Linked DNA regions of Homo sapiens: region 1 is linked to region 2. The links are contacts of gene promoters, found by promoter capture Hi-C in human tissues and cell types (Jung and others, 2019). All regions are on one chromosome and are shown on one strand. Each heading gives the region's core, a stretch centred on a gene start or on the middle of the fragment in contact. The rest is flanking DNA. Distances are from core to core; before and after follow the strand shown.

Region 1 (3,723 bases), core at 488-2,987, 420 kb before region 2:
ATTCTTTATTGTTGGTTTTACTGGTTGGTTTGAGCTTTTCTTTTTCTGTGTGTGGTTTTTTTTGTTTTTTTTTTTTTTGAGACAGAGTTTCGCTTTTGTTGCCCAAGCTGGAATGCAGTGGCATGATCTTGGCTCACTGCGACCTCTGCCTCCTGGGTTCAAGCGATTCTCCTGCCTCAGCCTCCCAAGTAGCTGGGATTACAGGCATGCCCTACCAGGCCCGACTAACTTTTTTGTATCTTTAGTAGAGACGGGGTTTCACCATGTTGGTCAGGCTGGTCTCGAACTCTTGATCTCAAGTGATCCACCCGCCTTGACCTCCCAAAGTGCTGGGATTACAGGTGTGAGCCATGGTGCCTGGCTGGTTTGAGCTTTTCTGATATTACATACAATGCTGTAACAATAAACGCGTGACTAAAGTTTTGACTACATCTCTGGGTTTCTTAGATTTCTTATATCAAGAGCAGAGCTACAGACCTTATTTTAAGACCATTGTTAAATTATTTTCTAGGAAATCATGCTAAATTACCCCATTTTCACCCCAGAGAAAAGGCTGTATTTGAAAATTCCTATTTAGCTACACCATCGTGAGCTTTGAATGTTGCATTTCTTTGATCTTGCTGGCATTCTTATAGATGAACAGCACAGCCAGTACTCCAAGTTGCTGCTGGCCTCTAAGGAGCAGGTGCTGCACCGGGTAGTTCTGGAGGAGAAAGTAGCACTAGAGCAGCAGCTGGCAGAGGAGAAGCACACTCCCGAGTCCTGCTTTATTGAGGCAGCTATCCAGGAGCTCAAGGTGAGAGGATGCATTGGAGATGCTAAACCTTTTCACTTTCTCGGCGTTCTGTGGTGAAAACCAGAAATGCTAAACCTTTTCACTCTGTCGGGGGTGAGATGATGGACGCTGGGGATTAAGTTAGTTCCATTCCACATTTAAGACAATAAGCAGAGAATGGCTAAAAAAGCCAATTTGTTTTGGGCTTTGTTTGATGACAGTAGAGAAGGTTTAACCTAGGGCTTTTAAAGCTCTTTCTAGAGCTGAAAGGAGCAAGTCAAAATGATTTTATAACTAATTGTGACAGTGGAGTTTTTTAGATTAGCTATGTTCTTAAAGCAAGTTAGAGTTCTTTGTTTTCTGGGAAAATACTTAAGATTCTATTCTAGAGGTGTTTTGAAAGACATTGTGGAGAAAGTATTATGGCCTGCCCAGTATGCCTTAGGAGTACCTGAAACGGCAAGAATTACACAAGAACAGAATTCCCTGGGTCTTTTATCTTCCACAACAGAGATTCTTGAAGCATCACAACCACTGGTTGTTAGGTCCCACTTTGAGATATTGATTGCATAGGTTAAGCTCAGTAGGCTCAGTAATTTGCATATAACAAGTTCTAGGGTGATTCTGATGGCTGCTCATCCCCAGACCACACTCCTGGAACCACTGATCTAGCTTAGAGCAATAGAAGCCCATATTTATTGAGTGATCAGCATTTGATAGGACTTGTGCTATACACATTTATCTCACTTAAGCTTCTAGTGTGGTAGATAGAACTATCCCCTTTCATGGATGAGGAAACTGAATCCTGGGTTGGGTAATTTGCTAGTAAGGGATGCAGCTGGTATTTGAATTCCCTTCTCCCTGACTCCCAAGGGCTCCTTGGGTAGAGTCCTGTGTATTTAACTTTTGCTTTCTTTCTATAATACGTTGCAGCCGTATTTGTTCAAATGCCATTACAGGCATAAGAAAGGCTACATAGAATTAGAGCTGTCCAGGCTGAGGTGGAGTTAGCTAAATCCTTCCTACTACTCTGGACCTCTGTCTGAGCATAGTTTGTAAAAACTAGGTTAGTTTCATGTTCTTAGATTTCTGTTCTGGAAGTTTTTTGTATAGTGTTGTTTGTGTCAGATTCTCTTTTATTTTTTTTAACTTTTAAGTTCAGGGGTACAAATGCAGGTTGTTACATGGTAAACCTGTGTCATGGGGGTTTGTTATACAGATTTTCACCCAGGTATTAAGCTTAGTACCCATTGGTTATTTTTCCTGATCCCCTCCCTCCTCCCACTCTCCACCCTCTGATAGGCCTCAGTGTGTGTTCCCCTCTATGTGTCCATGTTTCATCATTTAGCTCCCACTTAGAAGTGAGAACATGTGTGCGATATTTGGTTTTTCTTTTTCTTTCTTTCTTTTTTTTTTTTTTTTTTTTGAGACAGAGTTTTGCTCTCGTTGCCCAGGCTGGAGTGCAGTGGCGTGATCTCGGCTCATCACAACCTCTGCCTCCAAGGTTCAAGTGATTCTCCTGCCTCAGCCTCCTGAGTAGCAGGAATTACAGGCATGCCCCACCATGCCTGGGTTATTTTGTATTTTTAGTAGAGATGGGGTTTCTCCATGTTGGTCAGGGTGGTCTTGAACTTCCAACCTCAGGTGATCCGCCCACCTCAGTCTCCCAAAGTGCTGGGATTACAGGCATGAGCCACCACACCTGGCCGTATGTGTCTTTACAGTAGAATGATTTATATTCCTTTGGCTATATACCCAGTAATGGGATTGCTGGGTGAAATTTTATTTCTGTCTTTAGGTCTTTGAGGAATCACCACACTGTCTTCCACAATGATTGAACTAATTTACACTCCCCAGTGTCAGATTCTAAGCAGATTCCAATCCTTAGTGGGTATTGCATGCTTTTTGCTTCCTGTTTCCCTCAAAGTTGAGATATTTAAGCACCTAATTCCTTCCCATTGGGTCTCATTGCCTTTTAACTTTTGGTCCTGTTGAGAGGCCATTCTAAGCCCTTGCCCTTCAAGCTAAGTGTGTGTCTGGAAACTTAACCTTCTCTGGTGTTCTCTCTGGCCACGTTAGACTCGGGAAGAGGCTCTGTCGGGATTGGCCGGAAGCAGAAGGGAGGTCACTGGTGTTGTGGCTGCTCTGGAACAACTGGTGCTGATGGCTCCCTTGGCGAAGGAGTCTGTTTTTCAACCCAGGAAGGTTAGTGTGTTCCTGTTACTAAGTGGCTGCCGTTCCTCAAATGCTGTCATTGAGCTGGTAGGCATTACTGTGAGATCTAAACCTTCTCAAGAGAAGAGGGGACAATGAGTATTTTCTGTATGCTTGTTATTAGTTCTTTCCCCAGGGGTGTTAAATCAGTGAACACGACAGCTAAGATAAACATCTAGGGAGCTTGGCTCTTAGGTCTGCATTTGCCACATTGCTTTCGGAAAGCAGGAGATATCCTTTCTGTTGACTTAGAGTTTGCTGCAACAGGGTGTGCTGGAGTATCTGTCTGCCTTCGATGAAGAAACCACGGAAGTTTGTTCTCTGGACACTCCTTCTAGACCTCTTGCTCTCCCTCTGGTAGAAGAGGAGGAAGCAGTGTCTGAACCAGAGCCTGAGGGGTTGCCAGAGGCCTGTGATGACTTGGAGTTAGCAGATGACAATCTTAAAGAGGGGACCATTTGCACTGAGTCCAGCCAGCAGGAACCCATCACCAAGTCAGGCTTCACACGCCTCAGCAGCTCTCCTTGTTACTACTTTTACCAAGGTGAGGGTGCCGGAAGAGAGGGCTGGGTTGCCGCAGAGGTGTTTCAGAGGTGACCCGGTGCTCTAAGCAGAGGAGCGCCACTAGATCCTGTGGCTTGGGTGGCTTGAGCCCTTGGGCATGGGGAGGGGTGGGGAGCCTCCTGGGGACTGGCCAAGACTGGTGTGTGATAGAGCCCCTTGTCCTCAGCGGA
Region 2 (3,726 bases), core at 1,224-3,723:
CTGAGGTAGAAGGATGATTTGAGCCCAGGAGGCGGAGGTTGCAGTGAGCCCAGATCATGCCATTGCACTCTAGCTTGGGCAACAGAGCCAAACCCTGTCTCAAAAAATAAAAATAAATAAAAATGAAAAAAAAAATCAGAATTGCACACATGAAATGGGTGAATTGTATGGTAAGTATATCTCAATAAAGCTACAACAATATTTTTATTGATTTACATACCATCAAACTCGCCCTTTTAAAATGTGCAATTCATTGGGTTTTAATAAAGTCACAGAGTTGTCCGATATCACCACAATCAATTGTAGAACATTTTTATCATCCTAAAGAAACCCAGCACCATGGAGTGGCCACTCCCCATTCCCTTCTCCCACCCAGGCCCTGACAACCACAAATCCACTTCCTGTCTCTATGGATTTGCCTGTTCTGGACATTTCAGATAAATGGACTCACACACTATGTAGTCTTTAGTGACCACTTTTTCACTTAGCATCATGTTTTCAAGGCTCATGCATGTTGTGGCATGTACTGGAACTCCATTCCTTTATATGACCAAATAATATACCATTGCATTGGCTGGATGCGGTGGCTCATGCCTGTAATCCCAGCACTTTGGGGGGCCAAGGCGAGGGCATCACCTAAGGTCAGGAGTTCGAGACTAGTCTGGCCAACATGGTAAAACCCCATCTCTACCAAAAATACAAAAATTAGCTGGGCGTGGTGGTACATACCTGTAGTTCCAGATACTCGGGAGGCTCAGGCAGGAGAATTGCTTGAACCCGGGAGGCGGAGGTTGCAGTGAGCCAAGATTGCACCACTGCACTCCAGCCTGGGCAACAGAGCGAGACCCCCATCTCAAAAAAAAAAAAAAAGAAAGAAAAAAATATATATGTCTATACCATTGCATGGTCAAGCCATATTTTGTTTATATATTCATCAGGTGATGAATATTTATGTTTTTTCCACTTTTTGGCTCTTGTGAATAATGCTGCTATGAGCATTCACGCACAAGTTTTTGTATAGACATCTGTTTTTAATTCTTTGGGGTTTTGCATTCATTTTAATTTTAAAAACATATTGCATAAAAATGTTATTTACCTTGATGACTGGGTTTTTTGGCATTCCCTTAAAATTTGCACCTGGGCTGCCAGGCATGGTGGCGCACGCCTGTAATCCTAACACTTTGGGAGGCTGAGGTGGGCGGATGGCTTGAGTCCAGGAGTTTGAGACCAACCTGGGCAGCATGGCAAGACCCTGTCTCCACAAAAAATACACACACAAGGCCGGGCACAGTGGCTCACACCTGTAATCCCAGCACTTTGGGAGGCCGAGGCGGACGAATCACTTGAGGTCAAGAGTTCAAGACCAGCCTGGCCAACATGGTGAAACCCCAACTCAATAAAGAATACAAAAAAATTAGCCGGGTGTAGTGGTATGTGCCTGTAATCCCAGCTACTCCGGAGGCTGAGGCAGGGGAATCGCTTGAACCTGGGAGGCGGAGGTTGCAGTGAGCCAAGATTGCTCCACTGCACTCCAAGCCTGGGTGACAGAGTGAGACTCTGTCTCAAAAACACACACACACACAACCCAAACACACACAACACACACACACAAAATCAGCTGGGTGTCGTGGTGCGTGCCTGTAGTGCCAGCTACTTGGGTACTTGGGTGGCTGAGGCGGGAGGATCACCTGAACCCAGGAAGTCAAGGCTGCAGTAAGCCATGATCGCGCCACAGCACTCCAGCCTGGGTGACAAAGTGAGAACATAGCTCAAAAAATAAAAAAATAAATTTGCACCTGAGGCAAGTGTCACACTCATCCCAACTCAGTCTCACCTTGCATGTTTTCTGCCTTGCTGGCTGTATGACCCTGGACAAGTTACTTAACCGCTCAGAGCCTCGATTTCCTCCTCTATAAAATGGGGATAATCTCTGTAACTGCTCACAGTTGGTAGCAGAATGCAATGAAGTGAATTCGCCCTCACAGAGCCAGCACTGTTCTTGGCACATGGTAATCTTAACATATTTTTTCCTACAGGGAGGCCTGGTGTCAGGCCGGGAGTGGGGTGGAAGGGTCCCAAAATGGATGGAAGGGCCCCAAAATGGCCGTGAGCATCCTCTGCCCTTGAGAAGAGCTAGCCCAGCTGTCTAGAGCTCCCTGCTGCTGCCGCTCTCGTAAGCAGCAAGCATTTTTGGCTCTCCTGTCTCAGCATGATGCCCCTACAAGGTTCTTTCGGGGGTGGGACCCAACGCTGCTCTCCTGATGGCCTCCCTGGCTCCCAGCACCTTCCATCCCAGCTGCTCAGGGCCCCTCACCTGCGCCTCCCCCACCCTCCCCTCTGCCCACTCCCATCGCAGGCCATAGCTCCCTGTCCCTCTCCGCTGCCATGAGGCCTGCACTTTGCAGGGCTGAAGTCCAAAGTTCAGTCCCTTCGCTAAGCACACGGATAAATATGAACCTTGGAGAATTTCCCCAGCTCCAATGTAAACAGAACAGGCAGGGGCCCTGATTCACGGGCCGCTGGGGCCAGGGTTGGGGGTTGGGGGTGCCCACAGGGCTTGGCTAGTGGGGTTTTGGGGGGGCAGTGGGTGCAAGGAGTTTGGTTTGTGTCTGCCGGCCGGCAGGCAAACGCAACCCACGCGGTGGGGGAGGCGGCTAGCGTGGTGGACCCGGGCCGCGTGGCCCTGTGGCAGCCGAGCCATGGTTTCTAAACTGAGCCAGCTGCAGACGGAGCTCCTGGCGGCCCTGCTCGAGTCAGGGCTGAGCAAAGAGGCACTGATCCAGGCACTGGGTGAGCCGGGGCCCTACCTCCTGGCTGGAGAAGGCCCCCTGGACAAGGGGGAGTCCTGCGGCGGCGGTCGAGGGGAGCTGGCTGAGCTGCCCAATGGGCTGGGGGAGACTCGGGGCTCCGAGGACGAGACGGACGACGATGGGGAAGACTTCACGCCACCCATCCTCAAAGAGCTGGAGAACCTCAGCCCTGAGGAGGCGGCCCACCAGAAAGCCGTGGTGGAGACCCTTCTGCAGTAAGGAGCCCTGCCCCGTCCCCGCTCCCAGGAGAGCCTAGAGGGGCCCCCCTCAGCTCCTAACGAGCCCCCCTTCTGAGTTGAGTCCCCATGACCTTCAGCCTTTAGCCTAGTTGCTGGGAAGGGGGACAGGGCCCATGAGAGCCCAGGGGTCCTTGCTTGGAGGTTTGAGCCTCCAGCCCCTGAACTGCTCCTCTGCAGAGTCCCAAATCCCATGAGCCCAGGCCTTTAGCCCAGTCCTTGGGCAAGGGGGACATTTCCCAGGGGGGTCCAAGATGGGAGAAAAAGCAGGTGAGTTCACAACTCAAATGCCTGGAGAACTGGGAGGTGGTGGAAATTTTTAGCCACTCTGATCATTTATACTCTCCAGACCCTAACTCCTGCACTGAGTCCTCAGTGGGTAGGCTCCGGGGCCCAGGAAGCACTGCCAGGGAGGAGGGCCCGAAGCTGGGGTTTGGGGGCTTTCCTGGCCTCCTAGGGACTCATGCGTTTAGCCAGGGAAGCCCAGGTCTTTCTTACCTGAGGCAGACAGAGCCTCGAGGTGGGAGCTGCTCCCCTTTCCTGTATGGCCACAGGCACCCCACCTCACCAGCAGGCGCCATTAGAGGCTGCCCGTTCTACATCCCCATCCGCTGGCGGACTCCCCGTCTCCTGGAGAACTGGGTGGGTCCTGAGCTCGATGCCTCCCCTCTCCTCAGCAG

What was found. The method cuts DNA at HindIII sites, captures the fragments that hold promoters and counts their contacts. A contact is called where the count stands out against the background at its distance.
Region 1: a fragment that was not itself captured here is called in contact with the fragment with the promoter of HNF1A in region 2 in 1 of the 25 tissues and cell types used here (lymphoblastoid cells).

The regions. Positions count from the first base shown.
Region 1 is chr12:120,560,091-120,563,813 of GRCh38, forward strand. RNF10 (ring finger protein 10) reads left to right here. Exons shown (of 17, transcript NM_014868.5): 7 at 636-796; 8 at 2,855-2,980; 9 at 3,257-3,533; 10 at 3,720-3,723. Among named protein-coding and RNA genes, the nearest start is that of POP5, 19 kb to the right of the region's middle. The HindIII fragment of the contact is 5,481 bases long and covers 1-3,723 here.
Region 2 is chr12:120,976,070-120,979,795 of GRCh38, forward strand. HNF1A (HNF1 homeobox A) reads left to right here and starts at 2,474. Exons shown (of 10, transcript NM_000545.8): 1 at 2,474-3,025. The coding sequence starts at 2,700. The HindIII fragment of the contact is 9,653 bases long and covers 1-3,726 here.